7 separate regions of the Homo sapiens genome follow, and regions 1, 2, 3, 4, 5 and 6 are each linked to region 7. The links are contacts of gene promoters, found by promoter capture Hi-C in blood cells and fetal thymus (Javierre and others, 2016). All regions are on one chromosome and are shown on one strand. The core of a region is centred on a gene start or on the middle of the fragment in contact, and the rest is flanking DNA. Distances in the headings are between cores, read along the strand shown. Region 1 overlaps ARHGEF17 (Rho guanine nucleotide exchange factor 17). Region 2 overlaps P2RY2 (purinergic receptor P2Y2). Region 3 holds the start of ARHGEF17 (Rho guanine nucleotide exchange factor 17). Region 4 overlaps P2RY2 (purinergic receptor P2Y2). Region 5 has its middle 5.1 kb from the start of P2RY6. Region 6 overlaps P2RY6 (pyrimidinergic receptor P2Y6). Region 7 holds the start of PDE2A (phosphodiesterase 2A).

Evidence for each region. The method cuts DNA at HindIII sites, captures the fragments that hold promoters and counts their contacts. A CHiCAGO score of 5 or more calls a contact.
Region 1: a fragment that was not itself captured here is called in contact with the fragment with the promoter of PDE2A in region 7 in 1 of 17 cell types (monocytes); the score reaches 5.3 in monocytes.
Region 2: a fragment that was not itself captured here is called in contact with the fragment with the promoter of PDE2A in region 7 in 1 of 17 cell types (neutrophils); the score reaches 5.4 in neutrophils.
Region 3: the fragment with the promoter of ARHGEF17 here is called in contact with the fragment with the promoter of PDE2A in region 7 in 4 of 17 cell types (neutrophils, total B cells, naive B cells and 1 more); the score reaches 10.6 in neutrophils.
Region 4: a fragment that was not itself captured here is called in contact with the fragment with the promoter of PDE2A in region 7 in 1 of 17 cell types (neutrophils); the score reaches 7.1 in neutrophils.
Region 5: a fragment that was not itself captured here is called in contact with the fragment with the promoter of PDE2A in region 7 in 1 of 17 cell types (neutrophils); the score reaches 5.6 in neutrophils.
Region 6: a fragment that was not itself captured here is called in contact with the fragment with the promoter of PDE2A in region 7 in 2 of 17 cell types (M0 macrophages and neutrophils); the score reaches 7.0 in M0 macrophages.

Annotation. Positions count from the first base shown.
Region 1 is chr11:73,324,141-73,326,840 of GRCh38, reverse strand. The region is part of intron 1 of ARHGEF17 (Rho guanine nucleotide exchange factor 17); the gene reads right to left. Among named protein-coding and RNA genes, the nearest start is that of ARHGEF17-AS1, 16 kb to the right of the region's middle. RefSeq lists an enhancer at 863-1,514. The HindIII fragment of the contact is 155 bases long and covers 1,175-1,329 here.
Region 2 is chr11:73,236,812-73,239,511 of GRCh38, reverse strand. It overlaps P2RY2 (purinergic receptor P2Y2), which reads right to left. Exons shown (of 3, transcript NM_002564.4): 3 at 1-2,700. Among named protein-coding and RNA genes, the nearest start is that of P2RY2, 20 kb to the right of the region's middle. RefSeq lists enhancers at 1,374-1,668, 2,254-2,303. The HindIII fragment of the contact is 2,388 bases long and covers 61-2,448 here.
Region 3 is chr11:73,306,895-73,309,594 of GRCh38, reverse strand. ARHGEF17 (Rho guanine nucleotide exchange factor 17) reads right to left here and starts at 1,319. Exons shown (of 21, transcript NM_014786.4): 1 at 1-1,319. The coding sequence starts at 956. It overlaps ARHGEF17-AS1 (ARHGEF17 antisense RNA 1), which reads left to right and starts at 234. Exons shown (of 3, transcript NR_147696.1): 1 at 234-923; 2 at 1,031-1,713; 3 at 2,039-2,084. RefSeq lists enhancers at 1-324, 330-1,207 and silencers at 628-847, 1,078-1,407, 1,808-1,947. The HindIII fragment of the contact is 10,810 bases long and covers 1-2,700 here.
Region 4 is chr11:73,220,308-73,223,007 of GRCh38, reverse strand. The region is part of intron 1 of P2RY2 (purinergic receptor P2Y2); the gene reads right to left. Among named protein-coding and RNA genes, the nearest start is that of P2RY2, 3.4 kb to the right of the region's middle. The HindIII fragment of the contact is 1,742 bases long and covers 496-2,237 here.
Region 5 is chr11:73,265,922-73,268,621 of GRCh38, reverse strand. It overlaps a transcript of P2RY6 not described here. Among named protein-coding and RNA genes, the nearest start is that of P2RY6, 5.1 kb to the left of the region's middle. The HindIII fragment of the contact is 2,895 bases long and covers 1-2,700 here.
Region 6 is chr11:73,284,713-73,287,412 of GRCh38, reverse strand. The region is part of intron 1 of P2RY6 (pyrimidinergic receptor P2Y6); the gene reads right to left. Among named protein-coding and RNA genes, the nearest start is that of P2RY6, 14 kb to the right of the region's middle. The HindIII fragment of the contact is 4,518 bases long and covers 1-2,700 here.
Region 7 is chr11:72,673,005-72,675,704 of GRCh38, reverse strand. PDE2A (phosphodiesterase 2A) reads left to right here and starts at 1,283. Exons shown (of 31, transcript NM_002599.5): 1 at 1,283-1,568. The coding sequence starts at 1,498. RefSeq lists enhancers at 1-59, 210-834, 835-1,461, 1,462-2,087, 2,088-2,700. The HindIII fragment of the contact is 6,386 bases long and covers 1-2,700 here.

The sequences.
Region 1 (2,700 bases), core at 3-2,502, 650 kb before region 7:
ACCCTACTTTCACTTAAATCAATGAGATCAGCCTGCTTTATACTTCTGTGTCAAGATTCCTCTAGAAGAAAAGGTTCCACTATTTTTATTTTTATTCATTTATTTATTTTTTAATTTTTTGAGACGGAGTTTCACTCTTGGTTGCCCAGGTTGGAGTGCAATGTGCAATCTCGGTGCACTGCAACCTCTACCTCCTGGGTTCAAGCGATTCTCCTGCCTCAGCCTCCCGAGTAGCTGGAATTACAGGCGTATGCCACCAGGCCCAGCTAATTTTTGTATTTCTAGTAGAGATGTGGTTTTACCATGTTGACCAGGCTGGTCTTGAACTCCTGACCTCAGGTGATCCGCCCTCCTCGGCCTCCCAACCTCGGCCTCCCAAAGTGCTGGGATTACAGCCGTGAGCTTGGAAATTACCACTCTGGGATCAAGTCCAGGCTTTTAGGCCTGGCCTTTAGGAACTCCCGGGGCCCACCTGACCTCTCCAGAACCAGGGAGCTTTCATGGTACCCCAGACACACCAGGGCTTCTCCATCACAGGCCTCTACCTTTGCAGTTCTCTCTCCCTGAAGGGCCTTGGCTCATTTCTGCCTGTCAAGGTCTGGCTAGTCCTTCAAGATTCCAGCCACTGCCCTAAGTTAGCCTTCCCTGCCCTCACCCTTCTTGGCCTCCTTCGACCCCCAGTTCTCAGATGGGGCTTCTTGGGTCAGGAACCCCTTCTCCTTCACCCTGCGGCCCCCATGCTAACCCTGCACATACAGGCACCAGTGGGCCACAGTGCAATTGAATTTTAAAGGTTCCCCTGGGTTCCCCCAACCCGCCACTCAGAGCTTATTTCAGCGTTAATTATCCAAGACTAGTTAGAAAAGGTAGAAGCATCTGTGCAGTCAGGGCTCAGTCAATCCACCAATGACAGTGAACACCCCGGTTCTCAGTCAAATGGCTGGGCTGTCCCATGGGAGCAAGGTCTGCTCCCAGGCAGGAAGCGGCCTAGGCCCTCTCCCCACTCACCAGGCTCTGGCATCCACTGCCCAGCCCCGCCCCTTGCTGGACACTCAGAGGGTGGTACAGGAGCAAATTGCTCTGTTCACATCTCTCCAGATGGATAATGCCTGTTTATGTTACTTGTTGACATCTGGCTGCCCCAATCTACTCCAACTTTGCTGTCATCAAAGCTTGCTCCAGGGAAGGTCTCAGGCTCGGTCCTCACTCCTGATATCTGTACAGATGTCTTTGTGGGTATGGAAATCTGCTGGGGATTGAAAAGTGAGAAAGTGAGAGAGAGAGAGAGAGTGTGTGTGTACAATGCCTATATGCGATGCTCCTCAAGCTTTGCCTGTGTTGAGATGGGTGGGGGTTTGCTGTCAGCTTACCCCACAGTGTGGGAACTGTTGGTTTCAGTGTGCTCCCCTCCAGCCCGCAGGCTCCAGCAGGGCTCCTCTCTACATCTCCAGCCCAAGCACAGGGCCCAGCCCTGGAACGAAATTTCTTCCCCAGCACCCACAGCCCAGGCCTGGCCACACAGGAAGCGACCTGATGACTGAGGCCCAAGAGTTCAACTCATGGGACAGGACTCAGGGCTAGGGGCCCAGAGGGAGACAGGGCAGGAGGCTGGGGGTGGGGGAGGTTTGGGCTGGCTGCGGGTCTGGGCCTCTCTGGGCTCTTTGTCCAAATATGGAAGGTTTTTTTGTCTCCATTTGAGTCACGCCGGCCATGGCCCAAGAGATCTGCTTTCCAGATACTGCAAACGGGACTGCACTGCACTGCCTGGCCTGCCTGTCTCCCCTTCACCTGCCCGTGGCCCATCTCTCCACCTTCCCAAACTCCTGGGCTGAGTTCTCTCCGCCAGCAGAAAGCCCAGCACCCACCTCAGCTGCTTTCCAGCACCAAGAGAAGGGTCCCTGGGCCCATAAAGGGAGGAAACACTCATTCCTTCTGTGCCTGTCACCTCCTCCCACTCCCCAAGGGCCTCTCAAGTGCAACTGAGCCATTCAACTAATATTTACTGAGCAACTACTATGTGCTGGTTCCTGGGACTCAGACCATGGACTGTGAATCCAGTAGGATCACTATGTCCAAAGCAAAATCCACCCTTTCTTTCTGTGCCCACCTTGATGATGGCACTGCCCCCAACTCAGGCAGTCCTGAAAGCCAGGGGCCTAAGCACGGGTTCTGGAGCCAGACCATCTGGGTCTGAACTCCAACCCAGTGAGACTATCCTGGTTTGAATACCACCTCTCTCTTTCTGGGCTCTGTGACCTGAGCTAAGCACCCTCACCTTCTCTGGGCCTGTGTCTGCTTCCCATCCCACCCCCAATCAGTGCCGACTCGGGACGGCACCCTTTGCCCATCTGCCAGCTTCCACCTGCCTGGTCCCCAGGACAGCAGCAACATAGGGCTAGGCATAGGCATGGGTGGTAAGGGGAGCTGAGAGGAGCCTGGGCGCTCCCCCAGGGCAGGGCTCAGCTGTCCTCCTCCTGCCTCCCCCACATTATTTATTTAATAAACGTGTACCCAGGCTCCACCTCGTGCCAGGAACAGGAGGGCTTGGCATGGGTGGATCCACCCGACCAGAATCAAGCATTGGGTCACGGGGCAAACTGGGGGCTCCCACCCACATCTCCACATCCCAGAGCCTTAGAGGTCTGTTACCTCCGAAGCAGAGAGGAGCTGCAATCACTGTGTATCCTGGGACAGAGGCGG
Region 2 (2,700 bases), core at 5-2,504, 560 kb before region 7:
TACCCTGCTGCCGTGGGAGGGTGCGAGCTCTCTAGCCTGAAGTGGCAAGTTTCTGAAGCTTGCTACTAGGGGCCCCCTCTTCCTCCTCTCCATGCTGCCCTCCCACAGCTGGGCACCTGGACAAGGTTCTGTAAACAGCACAGGCCCATGGTCCTGAAATCCACCTACTGCCAAGCAGGGCAGAGGTGGTCCCACACATTCCCCCAGGACAGACCTGCTTCCCTCCTCCCACACCCCACGGGGGTTCCCTGGAGACGTATGGCCCACTGTTGCTCACTGGCCAGACACACTGTCCTCTCCTTCAAAACATGTATCCCAATGTGGTTACGTACTAAGTGATGTCAACTCTGTGAGGGCAGGGCCCAGCTGATTTGCCTCCATAGCCCCCGGCCTGGTGCCAGGCATATAAATGCTGACCACACACCAGGCACTGTGAGGAGGACTTTGTGCGTAATAACGTAGGGAAGCCCCTCAACGCCCTGCATGGAAGGTAGCAGCACACTTTAGAAATGGGAAAACTGAGGTGCTGCAAGATTAGGTAACTTGCCCAAGAGACCCCAGCCAGGAAAGTGGGGACAATATTGACACTGAGGTGGTCTGGGTGGAGCATCTGTGTTCTCACATCCTTGCTACACTGCCTCTGTCATCTTGAATCATGCGAGGGGCCACTTATAGACCCTTCTGCCCTGCAGGGCTGTGAGTGTCGTGGGGCACTATAAAGGGCATGATTCTGGCCATCAGGTGAACCTGGACTCACTCTGACTCACCCTGACAGCCTGGATAACCTGGAACAAGTCCTCACTTCTCACGCCCTTCTCCTGTTTCCTCATCTGCTAAATAGGATCATAGCATCTACTTCCCAGGGCTTCTGTGAAGCATCCACCATATAACATAGATGAGAGGGTGCGTGGGACATGGGTCAATACACGACTTCCCTCCCTCATGTGCCTGATTCTAAACAGAGCAGCCCAAATCTGCCATGACAAGGGTGACAGAGAGGTAGCTTTGGTGACTTGACCTGGAGCAACCATGTGTGGATAACATGTTGCTTAGGGCCTCTTCTAACCTCAGGGGGTGAAAGTGGGAATGTACCCTGGGGTTCCTCCATCCCTCCTGGACCCTGGGACACCTGCCACCCAGGGCAGAGACCCCTGTGTGCCAGGGACCCTGCCCTGATGTCATGCAGTTCATTGAGAACAGCTGCTGCAGGCACATCAGCAGACATTTACTCCCTGACACTCAACTCTCTACCCTCCCTTTCCTCCCATCCCTGTCCTGTCCCTGGCCTCAGGTCTATGGCTCCATCCCAGTCACCCTGGGCAGGAAGAGCTGGGCAGTGTGAGTGACAGCAGGATCGTCACCAAGGCACTTGCTTACATCCAGGCGCCACGCTGACCTGCTGAATGACCTTGGGCTCAGCCCTGCCCATCTCTGGCCTTGAGTCTGCAGCTGGGCTGGATAATCCCTGGGGTCTGCTCAGTGGATGGGCAACTCACGTGCCCTTTCACAGTGGCCTTCATGAGTCAACAGCCCAGGAAGTGATGTCAGGTTAGGGAGGTGTGAAGGGGGCAGGGAATATTGGAGGGTAATAGGAGATATTTTGAGGGCAGGCAGATCCCCTCACGTCACTGCTGGACAATGGTCTGGGGCCAGGAGTGGAAAATTATGGTCTTACTTGGGCTGAAAATAGCATGAGGCATCAGGGCAGGAACTTCACCCACAAGGCAAGTGGCCTGGGCACTGAGCAGCAAGGTGGGACGTGCATACCAAGGGGCCAGGCAGTCCAACTGGGTTCCAGAGGTGCCCCTGGTTCACCCAGGGTCTCCAGTATCCACCCCCACCTGTGCCTGCCACAGGATTAGATGGTGAACGAGCCCCTCCTGTGTCCTTGTGGAGTGGCTCGGGCCTGTGGGAAAGGCTCAAGGGTGGTTTGTAACAGGCAATCATTAAGAAAGCTCAAGAGGGGCCGGGTGCGGTGGCTCATACCTGTAATCCCAGCACTTTGGGAGGCTGAGGCAGGTGGATCACTTGAGGTCAGGAGTTTGAGACCAGCCTGGCCAACATGGCGAAACCCTGTCTCTATTAAAAATACAAAAATTAGCCAGGTGTGGTGGCGCATACCTGTAATCCCAGCTACTTGGGAAACTGAGGCAGGAGAATTGCTTGAACCCGGGAGGCAGAGAGTTGCAGTGAGCCAAGACCGCAGCACTGCACTTCCAGCCTGGGTGACAGAACAAGACTTCGTCTCAAAAAGAAAAAAAAAACTCAGAAGGACATCGGCTACATTAACAGAAGTATAGAACCTAGAAGGTGAGAGGTGAATAGCTCACACTATTCTGGGCAGGTCACCCACCTGGCACAGTACAGAGTAATCATTTGGGTCATGGTCTGTGATGGGTCTCTGTCACATGAGGGCGCTGTGGAGTCAGGCTCCAAATACAGCAAGCTTTGGGGATGTCCTGCCTTTCACAAGGCAGAGTGGGAAGGGTGGAGAGGTCAGAGGGGGCAGGCAGAGTGGGCCACAGGGCGAGGGCTCTCCCAGAGGGAGAGGAGGGAGTCCCTGTCCTTGAGATCAAGAGTGAGGCCTGTCAGCTTTGCCCTGTCCCTTTCCAAAGGCTAGGGCGGGGCCCTGTCCAGCTGAGCGCCACACGTCAGCCCAGAGTGGTCCTGGCTAGACTCAGAACCTATCATAGGTGAGAC
Region 3 (2,700 bases), core at 70-2,569, 630 kb before region 7:
TTCATGCTGCTTAGATTTAACCCATCACTGTCAGGCCTGCAGTCCTGATCCAATAGGGAGCTTCCAGGCCTGAGCCCGGGCCTCCCTCCCCAGCGGTGGCCGCCCTCACCGTCTCGGTCGTCGTCACTGCCCGAGGAGTGGCCGCCGTGGTAGGCCGGACTCTGGGCTCCAGGCAGCTGCGGCGGGCCCTCCTCTTCCTCCTCGCTGGAGCTGGCAGCACGACTGCGGCTGACAGGATAGGAGGCGGCGATGGAGGAGGAGGAGCAGGAGGCCCGGGCCCCGGCCTGCGGTTGGGAGAAGATATGCCAAGAATGTAAACCATCCGCTGGACGCTGCGCCCGCTCCTGTTGCTGCTGCGGCCGGCGCAGCCTCCCTTCGGTCTCCGGCCCGGTCAGGGGCCGCGCCGAACGCAGACCCGCCAGGGGGAAGCATGTCCGAGGGGGTGGCGTCGGTGGCTGCCGCGACTCCCGAGCCGGAGGCTCCCACGCGGCACCGTCGGGGCTGGGCGTTCCTGGGGATTCAGAGTCGGCGCTGGGCCTCCTGGAGCCAGGACCGCCGAAGAGCTTGCGCATCTCGGTGACGCTGGGCCAGGCTCCTCGCGCTGGGCCCTCGGCCGCTTCTTCCGCGGCCGCGGGTAAGACGCCTCCGTCTCGGGTCCCAGCGGAGCCGTCGTCCAGACGCGGCGCGTCGAAGCGCCGGGAGAGCTGGCGAACCGACGGCGAGAGGCTGCGGAGCGGGCGCGGCTGCGCGGGGGCGGCCAGGGGCCCAGACGCCAGCTTGGACACGCGCCGAGAGGGCTGGCCCCGGGCAGCCGTGGTCGGCCGGCACGAGGCGCGTCGCCTCAAGCCGGGGGTGTCCGTGTCCTCCTCCCTCAGCCCGGGGCCGCCGCTCCAGCGCTCCAGCAGCTTGAACGAGACGCTGCGGTAAAGCTGGGGCCGGGGTGCCCCGTCCGCCATAGTGGCGTAACTCACTCCGGGGGGGCTGGCCTCGGGCAGCCGCGGCCAACCCCCCCTGCGCCCCCACTCCCTAGGAGCGCAGCGGCCCACGCCGAAAGCAGCGCACGGGAGTGTGGGAAGAGGACGCAGAGACCGGAGCAGAGGTTTCTCTGCCGCGGCTCAAGTTTCTGTGGCCACCGGCCGCAACGTCTCCATCCCGGGCGGCCCCTCCCGCCTCAGCGCCGACCCCCAGGCCCAGCCCCCGCCGCGGCTGGAGCGACCAGGGGCACCGCGGCACCGCCTGGGCGGGATCCCAGCGCTTGGTTCCTCGACTCTGCGTCCGCCTGCCCAACGCCCTTGGCTGCTCGCTCCTGGCACCCTTTTGTTGCAAATAAACTTTGCGGCAGAGGCAAGGGGGCGGGGGGCGGGGCCTCGCGCCCAAAAGAGGGGGTGGGCTCCGGGCGTGCGCGAGCCTGGGAACCGCGTGGTGGGAGGGAATCAGGGAGGAGCCGAAGAAGAAAAAGCCTGCTGGAGGACTTGCAGACTGAGGCGACCCTCTGGCCCTCCAGAGAGGTCCCTCGGGAGCCCAGCAGGCCGAGCTGCCCCCAGGGAGTCGCTGAGACACACACAACCGCTGAGCGTGCTCAGCTCCGCAGACTCGCAGCCAGGGCGCCGCGTCCACCGCGGGCCACCAGCCTCCGCGCGGAAACACCTCCTGCCCAGGGGCTCCAACATGGCAACCTCGGACTCACAAACTCTCGTACACACTGACACTCAGGTGCACGCAGACGCACACTCTCTGGGCCGGGAAAGGGGTGGGACTCGGCGCCAGGGAGAGCCCGGGGAGCCGCGGGCTAACTGAAGGGTCCGTCGCGCCCTACTCCCCGCCCAGGCCACGCCTCCTCCCCTTCCCTCCCCCTCCCCGCCCGCCCTCTGCGGCGAATTTAGCTGTAGCCACGCCCTTGTCCCCCCATCTCGCTCCCAAGCGCCCCGCCCATCCCACCTCCCAGCCGCCTGTCCGGCTCCGACCGGCCCCCAACCCGCCCAGCGTTGCTCCAGAAGTCCCACCCTTCACGACCGCGCCCCCACCCCTACTTTTCCAGCTGCCACGCCTTCCACCTGCCCCTGCAGTCTGGCGGCTCTTCTCCTGGACTCTCCGCCTGGATCCCCGAGCCTTTTCTTCTTGCTCTGGAGTACGCGGCTCTTGCGCCCCCTCGCGGCGTGATTTTCCCAACGCACGGAGTCCTGGACGGATAAAGCAGCACCCATCCCCCAAAAACGGAGAGTTGTGAAAACTTCCTTTCAGTCGTTACCTAATCCCCTTAGTCTTTTTCAGACCTTCGCAAAGCGCACTGCCCCTTCTTAGGCCTTATACACAAAAGGAGCTTCGACGGGAACGCCCTCGACTTCCCACTGCCAAACCTATACTCTTACCCGCAGCTGCTTCACCTTCTTGGCAGGAAAAGTGTCGGTTGTTTCTCTGGCTTCACGCTGATCCCTCGCTTGAGCTCCCCTCCCGCCCCTGCCTCCGTCTGAGTCTCACATTGTTCTCGGTATTGGGGCATCATCCCCTTCCGCATTCCCACCTGCCTCTAGATCCCATTCATCCTCCCGGCCCAACTAACGAATGAACGAACGAATGAAAATGTATGGAGTACCTATAATGTATGGGCAATATTATTTAACTTATTTTTTAAAATCCACAAACCACCCTTGGGGACAAATATTATTACCCCTTCTCTGTGGACCGTGAAGGAGAAGTAAC
Region 4 (2,700 bases), core at 117-2,616, 550 kb before region 7:
CCCAGGAACCACAAAGTCCCAGCAAACACTTGCCAATGCTCTGGTGCACCTGGCCTCAGATGGACCTTGTGAACTCAGACTCAGATTGCACTCTGCTGGGCCCTTGAGGAGTACCCAGTCAGGCTGAGGAAAAAGACACAGACATGGACCAAATCCACTTGGGTGAATAAACCATAACCAAGGCAAGCCCAGGGGTTATGGAGCACACAGCAACTCCTACCTGGCCTGGGGGAGGTGGTCAGGGAGTGCTTCTGCAGAGGAGGGGTCATCTGAGCTGGAAACTGGTAGATGATTAGGAGTTTGTCAGGTGGGCAAAGAGGGAGGAGGGCTCTGAAGGCAGGAGAGGCATGAGCAAAGACTTGGTGGATGAAAGTGTGACCTGCTGGAAAAAGGCTGGGAGGTCTTATACGGCTACTGTGGAGGGTGAGGTGGCATGGAATGTGTGGGAGCCTGAGGAATTCACTTGAAAAGGCTCAAATGCCAGGCTGAAAAGCTTGGCCTCTATTCTAAGGACACTGAGGAGCCATGGAAGGCTTAAGAGGGGAAGGACATGGTCAGAGTCAACCTTTACAAAGATGGTGCCACATGGAAGGTAGATGGGACAGGGAGTCTGGAGGGAGGGAGACCAAGGAGGAGACGACACATACGGTGGTGCCATGAGAGGAGCAGGTCCCTTGGCCCTGGATTTCCTGCAACAGCCCAGCCATGGCAAGAGTCCCCCTCCTACAAGCCAGGGCTGGGTGGCTGGGCACTCACCAGGAAGCCAGGTCGACACCCAGAGGCTCTCCTCAGACCTGGGGAGGGAGAGGCCACATAAAGCCCCAGAAGTCTGAGGGAGGTCCCTTTCCCTCACTCCAGCACCCAGGCCTCTCATTCAGGAGCTACAATGACAGTGACAAGGTACCAGGGCAGAGGGTCAAGGAGTTGTTCCACGGGGCCCAGGCTGCTCACCCTCCTACCAGAAACTCCCGCTACTCATCTTGGACCAGGAAAGACTCAGGCCTAGGAGATGGGGTGATGGGGTGGAGGAACTCCTCTGCTCCAGAACCAACTATGGCACTCCGTGGAGCAAAGCCTCCCCTTCTACTCCATGCCTACTCCCGCCTGGCCACTCATTTCCCAAAGACCCACTGGCAGCTGCTCTGAGCCCAACCTGTGGTGGCTGATGGGGACAGAGAGAGAAAGCAGGTATGGCCTAGCCTAGTCCTGCAACTGGCCGCTGGATGAGTACAGAGGTCAGAGTGGCCCACACAGCCAGCCTCCTCCTATCAGGGCCCAGTAATAAGGGAAGGCCAGGCCTCAGGACCCAAGGACAACCAAGAGGAGGTGTGGCCCAGAGGGTATAGCAAGCAGGCCTACAGAAAGCAGTTTGGGGAGAGGCGGTTTGGGTGGAAGGCATGAGGGGCAACCCCCACTCCCCTCACCAGATCAACAAGGCATCTCTGGTCCCGTGGGCAGGTCTGGGCAGGCGTTACCTTATCAGCAGTTGGGTAATCTGGCCACAAGAAAGCCCCAAACACAGGTTCCCAGGGCAGAATTCAAACTCCCCTCAGCCTGGAAGCCAGAGGACCAGGCCTAACCCTAACAGGGCTCTGTCTCAGATGGGGAGGGCTAAGCTGGCAGGTGGACTGGAGCCCCAGGTTTCACCTCAGCTTGGTGACCCTGGGCAGGATACAATCCATGCCTCTATTTCCTGATCTGCAAAATGGAGATACAATTCCTCCCTCACAGGGCTATAGGAAGACAAAATGGATTGTTGTAAATCGTTACTAGTGAAGCCATCTCTGCAGAGGGGGTGGGGGAGGAAGGCATTCAGTAATCAAATTTCAATAACAAGCACAATCCCTTGCTATTGCACCCATGTTCTCTTATAGTCTTCAAAATGGATTTAAGTCTACAAGTGTCACATTCCTCCTCTGAGCACTGCAGTTTAAGGCTTATAAAGCTCTTCCCTGGTCACTATCTTAATCCTCGTAGCAACTCTGCTCTCAAAGAAGCAAGGATCACCATTCTCAATTTACAAATGGCAGAACTGACACCTAGAGAGGGACAATGGCCTCTCTAAAGACTATAGCCATTAAGTCAAAGCTCTCATGGGGTCACTCATGAGGCCCTGGTGATACCCTCACACCTTCTTAGCTGGTCCTTGGGGGATCCACAGCCTTAGAGCCCCATGCATCCAGGGCAGGAGGGAGACAGAAACAGAGGAGTCACAGCCTCACTCCACAGCCCAAGCTTGGTAGTCATTTCTGAGGGTTGCCCACTGGGATCCCCAACCCCTCTGACCAGACTCCAAGACAGCCCAAGGCAGGGAGAAGAGGAGAAAGAGCGACAAGCCTTTTGTGCCAGAGCCTCCCCACACACATACTCTCCCATGCAGGATCTTACTTGTTCTGGCCTCCTTTTAGAGCCTGGCAGGGCAGGAACTGGTCATTCAACCAGCTGGGAACAGAGCTGGGATGAGATCAATTGCAGGTCCCCAAATTCCTCAGCAGGAGCATCTGAAGGCTCAGGGAAAAGTGTTTGGCCAAGGGGCAAGGGCTCAATTAGGGTTCAAACAACTCCTGGGACAGTTCTAGTGTTGACATCACAAATGCCCTGACCTCCCTGCACTTGGCAATACTTGATCCATTCTCCATCCTGCAGCCAGAGAGCGCTTTCTGAAATGCCGCTCTGACCATGAAACACCTCTGCTCATAA
Region 5 (2,700 bases), core at 138-2,637, 590 kb before region 7:
GACAGGGTCTCACTCTGTCACCCAGACTGGAGTGCAGTGGTGCAAACACACAGCTCACTACAGCCTTGACCTCCTGGGCTCAAATGATCCTCCTCAGCCTCCCAAGTAGTTGGCACTACAGGCATAAGCTACTACGCCTGGCTAAATTTGTATTTTTTTTTGTAGAGACAGGGCCTTTCTAGTTTGCACAGGCTGGTATCGAACTCCTGGTCTCAATCGATCCTCCTCCCTCAGCCTCCCAAAGTTTTGGGATCACAAACGTGAGCCACCATGTCTGGCCAGGGCTAGGCCTTCTTGCTGAGCCACAGAGGTTTTCCCTCTCTGCAGCCTGAGCCCCTCATACTGTCCAGAGTCTGGGGTCTGCTGTTTGCCTTCCATCATAGGAAACCACAGAGAGGCCACAGAGACCTAACAGAGTTGTAAGGAGCACATGCCTGTGGGTGCAATTCTGCACTGGTGCATGCACAGCACACCCAGCCCCGGAAACAGCTCCACATAACTCACACAGGTTCACACATACATATGCACACGTGCCCTGGCACCTGCCACACTTGGGAACACACCACCCACGGCAGGCACGCAGGCACCATCACATGCATGGACCCACTTCCAGCCAGCTTACATAGTGTTCTAGCTTAGCTCAGCAGCAAGTTGCATGTGAAGAGCTTTCATAACCAGGAAAGAGATGGGAGAGGAAGAGCTGAGTCCTTGGATGCCCAAGCCCTTCCTTTGCCCCTCCCAGAGAAGCTAACAGGTTTCCCCAAGAACACAGATGGTTTGTCTGGCTCACCCTCTTCAGCCATCCCACATAAGTCCTGGTCAGAATACTCACAGAAAGTAGGCAAAGGTTTCTATGGGAGGATTGTCCCCAGCTTGCTCAGTCAGCTACCAGTCCTGCTTGTCGCCAGCTCAAGGCAAGGTTTTAAGCTAATCACTGTGAATTTTGGAGCTCTCCACCCCCCAGCCTATGCTGAGTTCAGACATGGCTGTGCATCAACGATGCTGCTCCTGCTGGCTCCACAGGAGTCTTTTCTACAACCTGAGGTCTCTCAGAGAGAATGAGGTTTGCCTTTGAGGTCTCTTCAGCCCCATTTCTTGTTCTCTCTCTCCTTCCTTTTGATGGCCTTGCAAGGTGCCCAGTGACTCCACAATTCCCTCATCCTGAGGGGTGCCTACAATCCAAGATCTGAACCTTTCTCTGCTCTAGGGCCACCGTCCCCTGAGAGCTGTGAGGTACTCCCAGCAACTCTGCTGCTCTGATGAGGAGGGGCCTCTGGGTTCACTGTCATCCACCCCAGAGAGCATATGGCCATTTTACCAGGCACCTGCCTCTACTCCAGGCTGGCTTAGGCAGGGAGGAGACCTTTTCTGGGGCTTCTCACATGATTCTGCTGAAGTAACCTCTTCCTTGGGAGTTTATAAGTTTACAAGAGTCAGACTGCCAAAGCCAGGGCCAGAATCCTCCAACATTGGAGCCAGAATTGGGGAATGTTACAGCTTTGGAGTGTAGAAAGTTGGAGTTCGAATTGTAGACTTCTAGAATGTTTGAGTAATTATAGACTCTTAGGGCTAGGGGTGTGGAATTATAAACAATTATAGCCAGAATTGGGGATTAAAGGAAATCAGGGCCAGAAGTGACGACAGCATCACTTGGTCCCACCTCCCTGACAGCTAAGAAGACAGCTGGCCTTATCACTCAGAAAGTCAGGGCTGGGCCAGGCCTCCTTCTCCCCAGGAGGGCTCTGTCCAGACCTTCCAGAGAAGCTCTCAGGGCCTCTGGGGCAGCAGTACTCCCTGTTAGGGACAGTGGGGACAGTGGCTTGCCTCTGTGGTGCCCGAGGTTGCACTGGCCCATCATGGCACCCCGTCACCATGAGATATATTTAGGTTCCCTCCCCAGATGTTTCCACAGCTCCCAACACTGCCTTTTATGTCCCCTTGTCCTCCAAGGCCTCCGGGCAACTCCTCTAAACTGACTCAATGAAGTCAACAGGAACAGGGGCACTTGCTCTGCCAATGCAGAAGTTTTAGCCCCAGAAACAAGGCTCAGCCTGCGGGGAGCCTCCTGGTCCACTTCTGCTTGCAGCTCAATGCTGACCTCACAGCCTCCCTTTCAGCTCTCAGGGCCTGTCTTGGTCCAGGGACTAATATTCCTGATCCTGTACTGGACTTTCCTCATTCCAGGCAGAGGGCAACCCAGGCTCCTGCCCCTGCCAGTTCCCAAACACACACATACACAGGGCCAGCATTTTTCGGTTCCTCCAGGGTTTGTCAGGACTGAGAAGCCTCCATCCAAGCCCATGGCTGCCCCTGCATTTCTCCCCCAACCTCTCTCCCACGCTCCATCCCAGGCTTTGACAGAGACCTGCATTGTCCTCTCCCAGACTGCATCTTCCCAGGAAGCAGGTGGTCACTGAGAATTCAACAAGGATTCAGTCTGGGAATGGGAAAGGATCCCTCAGAGATACTCAAATAGGGACTCTCTGATTCCTACCCACACAGCTTATTGGAATCACTGGCTCTGTGAAAACTGAGAGTTCCTGGGGTGGGCAGGGACCCAGTTGTGTGGGGGTCACCATTACTATCATCATAGTTTTGTCACCAGCTGTTAGGATTTCTATGTATCAGAGATTGTGCCAGCCACTTAATATCCAGGCACTCAGTCAGTCCTAAAAATAACCTATGAGGCAAATACTATCC
Region 6 (2,700 bases), core at 128-2,627, 610 kb before region 7:
TGTGATCTAAGCCTACCAATGAGAGAAGAGTGGGCCCCTCAGGCCTGTAACTGGCTCAGGGTGGAGGAGTGACCTTCACTGCATGCCTCAGAGTCAATTCTGGCGCTTTTACTGGGGCATCAGGAAGGAGACAGGTCTTCCACAATATTTGCAAAGTTAGTAGAAAGTGAGGCAGGAGCTGCTGGAGCCAAGTGAACTAAGTTCCAGGCATTGTCCTGGGCGACGGAGATACTGCCACCAGGGAGGAGACTATCCACATAGAAAGCCAAGGAATGGCAGAGATGAGAGATGGGGATGCATCGTTTCCTGAGAACAGCATTGAGTGCCTGGTTTCAGCTGTGCCTGAGGTTTTACCTTTGGTGTCATGAGCTGATAAACTCCCTTTTTGCCTCAATCCATTTAACCTAGGATTCTGTCACTTGAAACTAGGAGTCCTGCCTGTAGATCTGCACCTTGTGCCCAGGAAGACAGGTGACATTTCCCTACGAGAAAACTGAGGCCAGAGAGGTTAGGAACTTGCCCAAAGTGCACTATAAATCCACCATGATACCCTGTCTCTCAGGAAGAGTGGCTTAAGAAAGGACAAAGAAATGGAGGTCAAGAGTCAGGGCAGAGAAGAAGACCAGTCGAAGGGGCGGTGTCAGACTCCCTCCCTTTCCTTCTCTAACTCTGCTAGGAACAGGGGACAAGGTCTGCTTTGCCTCTGGAGCCTCAGAGACCAGTATAGGCTTTGGCCCAAGAGGCACTGGGAAATGTTGGATGACTGGATCCAGTCTATAAAGATGAGCGCCGGGGCTCTGTCCTCGGTGCTGCCTGGTTCCATTTTTTTTTTTTTTTTAAATCTTTGTCTTGACTGATGACAGAGAAGATTTGTCAAGGAGAATGAAGGTAATGGGTTCAGGAGTAGCACCTCTGAGACTGCTTGGGTCCCCCAGTCCCCACCTCAGGAAAGGCAGACCACTAACCCCGCCAAGTGGTTATTGTGGGTTATGATCCTGCCCATTTCCCAGGCAGACCCTGAGGCCCGAAGGTAGGCAGTTTTGTCCACAACTCGTACAGGTAAGGTTTGGGTGTGGAAGGGGAGCCTCAGGGAACTCCTCCCCTCCCGTGAAAGGCAGCCCCTGCCTTGATTCCTGTTCTGATCATCCCTAGCTCTTCCTGGGGCCTGAGCCCACCTGGCAGTGATAAGACGTCCAGCTGGACCCAGGGGTCAATGACAGGCCTCTGAGTTCTGGACCCTCAGGGCTAGGGAGGCCTTAAGGTCACCTGACCCAGAGGTCTCCCCATCATCCCCTCAGAGAAGGGGGCTCTCTGAAGCCTCCCTGACTGGGCTTGTTTGGCCCCTGCCTGCATACTTCCCATTGCAGGGAGCTCACTCCTCTCCTAGGCCACTGCATTCCACCTTGAGAAAGCTCACTGGGAGATATGCTTTGTCACACCAAGCCCCAAGATCTGTCCCTAGTGACTGCTCTCCCACACCAGTCCAGCTTGCCTCTGGGGCCATATAGCTTGGCTGCCCCAGGACACCCTGCAGAGGTTGTCCCAAGACCATCCATCTATTGGTCTTCATTCTCACCAGGCAATTTCAGGCACATGTCCAGGTCCCAGGAGACCTAGTGGTGGATCCTCAAGGATGAGGCCGTGGTCTGTGGCTGTTTTCAAACCTGAAGACAAAACCCTTTGCTACCCTCTGTCCTGTTTCATTGCCTGCCTGGGGCCTGTAAGGGGGGCATAGTCTCTTCTTTTGGGAGGAGGAAACTAAGGCCCCCAACAGCTTAGTTACTTGCCAGGGCCACCAATCCGTCAGTGATCTTCCAATCAGCAGGACTGCCTGTCGCCAAACCCCAAATCTTCACCCTCAAACTGGCCTGTTTGTGGCCAGTCCAGTGTGGGAGGAAGAGGACTTTGTGGGTGTCCAAGGGGTGGCCTGGGAGGAAGAGATCAAAGTAAGGGGCAACTACCTCATTCAGAGTGCAATGTAGGAGGTCAGCAGGCAACAGTGGCTCCTGCTGTGGAGTGTGCATGAAGAACACAGGACAGGCCGGGTGTGGTGGCTCACGCCTGGAATCTCAGCACTTTGGGAGGCCAAGGCGGGAGGATCACTTGAGCCCAGAAGTTCGAGACCAGGCTGGGCAACATAGAGAAAGCCTGTCTCTACCAAAAAATGTTTAAAAATTAACTGGATGTGTTGGCGTGTGCCTGTAACCCCAGCTACTTGGGAGGCTGAGGTGGGAAAATCGCTTGAGCCTGGGAGGCCAAGGCTGCAGTGAGCTATGATCACACCACTGCATTCCAGCCTTGGCTACAGAGCGAGACCCTGTCTCAAAAAAGGGACGTAGGACAGACCCCCTCAGGTGGTCACTCGAATGATACCTTCTCCATGGGACCTTCTCCTACCACTCTAAGCTAAAATTATAAACCCCTACGCAACGCATGTGCATGTGTGATTCCTACGCCCCTTCTCTGCTATATTTTTCTCCTTAGCATTTAAAATCTTTTAATACACTGTTCTACTTATTTATTGGTTATTGTCTCTCTCTCATGACTGAACATAAACTCCACCAGGGCAGGGGTTTTCGTGTTTTTTTTTCACTGCTGCATGTACTTAGGACGGTGTCTGGCATATAGTAGGTTCTCAATAAATATTTGTTGAGTGAATGAACAAATAAATTCCAGACGTGGTTCAATTATGTCTACACA
Region 7 (2,700 bases), core at 34-2,533:
GGTTGCTGTGGAGGGTTTGCTGTAGCTCCTCTACCCTGGAATATACCCTCTTCTGCCTTAAAAGACCCAGCTTGGACCCTCTCTTCCAGAAATGCTTGCTAACCGCCCCCCCACCACCCAAACTAGGTCAGGGGTCCCTCTGGGCTTCACAGACCCTGTGCTTCTTTCTGTCACAGCCTGCAAGTCTCCCCTCCCCACTCCCCAGCCCGAGTGCTTCTCTGAGACAAGGGATAGTGTGAGCCATGAGCTCAGCCACTGGTAGGCCAATGAATAAGTAAGTTAATGGTGAAGCCAGGATCCAAATCCCCATTTCCTGCCTCAAGGTGTGGAGCTGTTTCTCCTGCATACAATAGTAGCTCTGCTGTGACAACTCTCTATCTGTCCTAGGGCCTAAAATGCCTCTATTTCACTAGGTTATAGCTTTATCCTAGGGAGTCCTCTTTGGAAGCAGGGTGGGGGTGCAACAGGCCTTCCCCCATGCCTGTAGTCTGTGAGCAGCGAAGGCCATGTGGGGCAGGCTGTGGCCTAGGTCTCCACAGATCCTGGTAGAAGTCCATGCTCACGCATCAGCTCCAAGTCCCAGCTAAACCAAGCCACCAAGAGGTGGGCCCTGTGACAAGGCTCTGAGTCCAAAGGCCATCAGTAAAGCCCCCTAAGTCTTCCGTGGACCCAGCTCCAGGCTGGGATGCACGCTAGGAGATGATACACACCGGGTGAGGGAGCCCAGAGGAGAGGGCAGCTAGCTGTGCATGGAGGCCTGATCTCTCAGACTTGAGGGCACAAGCGTGTCCCCTCATCCTGAAGGCTTCTGCGATGGGGCAGCAGAGGGTCTGGGTCTGCTGCCCCTCAAGTCCCCAGCCCCATCCTAGCCCATGAGGATTGTAAATCCCTCGTCCTCTCCCCTCTCTCCTCTGTCAGCCACTCCCCTTTCCCCCTACCCCACTCTCTTTCTATTTCTGCCTCTGATTTTTTTTCCTTTTCTGCCTTTGTTCCTCTGTGTGTGTGTTTCTCTATGCCTCTCTGGTCTCTTTGTACTTCCATCTTGATCTCGCTAAGGCTCTGATCCCTCTCTCCTCTCCCTCTTCATGTGTTACTGTCCCCCTTCCTGTCTCTGTTTATCTCTCAGTCTCTCTGTCTGTGAGTCTTTTTTCCTCTCTCCCAGTCAGACTCTCTCTCTACCCCTCCCTCTCTCCCTCTCTCCCTCTCTGTCTGGGCCTCTCTCTGTTCCTCCTCCCTCCTCCCTCCCCCTTCTGCATTATCAGACCTGCTCCAACCTCCTCCCAGAGCCAGCCGAGCAGCAGAGGCAGTGGCAGCGGGAGAGGCGGGAGCAGCGGGGCAGCAGAGCTGGATTGGGGTGTTGAGTCCAGGCTGAGTAGGGGGCAGCCCACTGCTCTTGGTCCCTGTGCCTGCTGGGGGTGCCCTGCCCTGAACTCCAGGCAGCGGGGACAGGGCGAGGTGCCACCTTAGTCTGGCTGGGGAGGCGGACGATGAGGAGTGATGGGGCAGGCATGCGGCCACTCCATCCTCTGCAGGAGCCAGCAGTACCCGGCAGCGCGACCGGCTGAGCCGTGAGTATAGTGAGGGGCTGGGGTGGTGAGCGGCTGTGAGAGGTGCCACAGACAGGGTCCTGGGAGTCCCTCCAAGGAGCTGGGGTTGGCATGGAGCTGAGCCACGTGGAAGGATCGATCCTGTTCCTGGGCACCCCTCCTCCCCGCGTTGCCAGACTGCAGCCTGGGGTGGGGGCAGGTTACCTCTGAGCAGAATGAGGGTGTCTAACGTCAACCTAGTAGGTGATGAGGCTGGGGTCCCATGGAAGGGGCTGCTGGTTGGAGGAGGGGCTGATAATGAACCTGAACCGGTTCTTCAAGGGCTGAGGGTGTATGTGGGGAGGGGGAGGTCTGCCAAGTAGTTGGGAGGAGCTCTCGGGGCTGCAATAGGCTGGTTCAGGACCCGGAGAGGGAGAGTGTCTTGGCCCACCAAGGCTATGTGTGTGTGAAGGAGGTGGGGAGGGGGAAAGATGGAGAAAATATGAATAAGAGTGGCCCTGGAGCAAGAGAGGGTTAGAGGTAACCACCTTCCATGGAATTGGGAATTGGGGTTCAGGGACACCACTTTATGAAACTTTACCCCAAAGCGTCTGTCCCAGGATAGGGTTCTACGGAGCCAGATGGAATATGGTGCCAGCCTCGTGTGTGTCCACGTGCAGGGGGGTGCATGTGCAAGTGAGTGGGGGGCGCCGTGGCGACACCCCTCTACTAAGGGCTGCCGAGGTGGTAGGCAGGGTATGTGTGTGTGTGTGTGTGTGTATACATGTGGAATGTAAGGGACATGTTGGGTGTAGAGGGGCCTGTAGAGCTCTAGGGTCCTTGGTGGTTGGATGTAAAGCAGCCTGTCAGAGTTTGTGATCATCCCTGTGTGAGTGAGAGTTTATTCGCATGTGTCTGAGTGTGAGTGCAGGTTGGTCTGCATATGTATGTAGGTGTGTCTATTAGGTTGAGTTTGTATATTATGTGTGTTGTGTCTGCAAAATAGAGTGAATCAGTGTGCATTTTTTATCTGTTCCATGTGCATTTATGTGTGTGTATTTGTTAGTGTGTGAATAATAGCATTGCTGTGTGTGGAGGTGGATGTGGCTGTGTGCGTATAAGTATTCTGGTGTGGGTGTGTGATCATGGTGCTAGTGTGTATATCGGTGCTTCT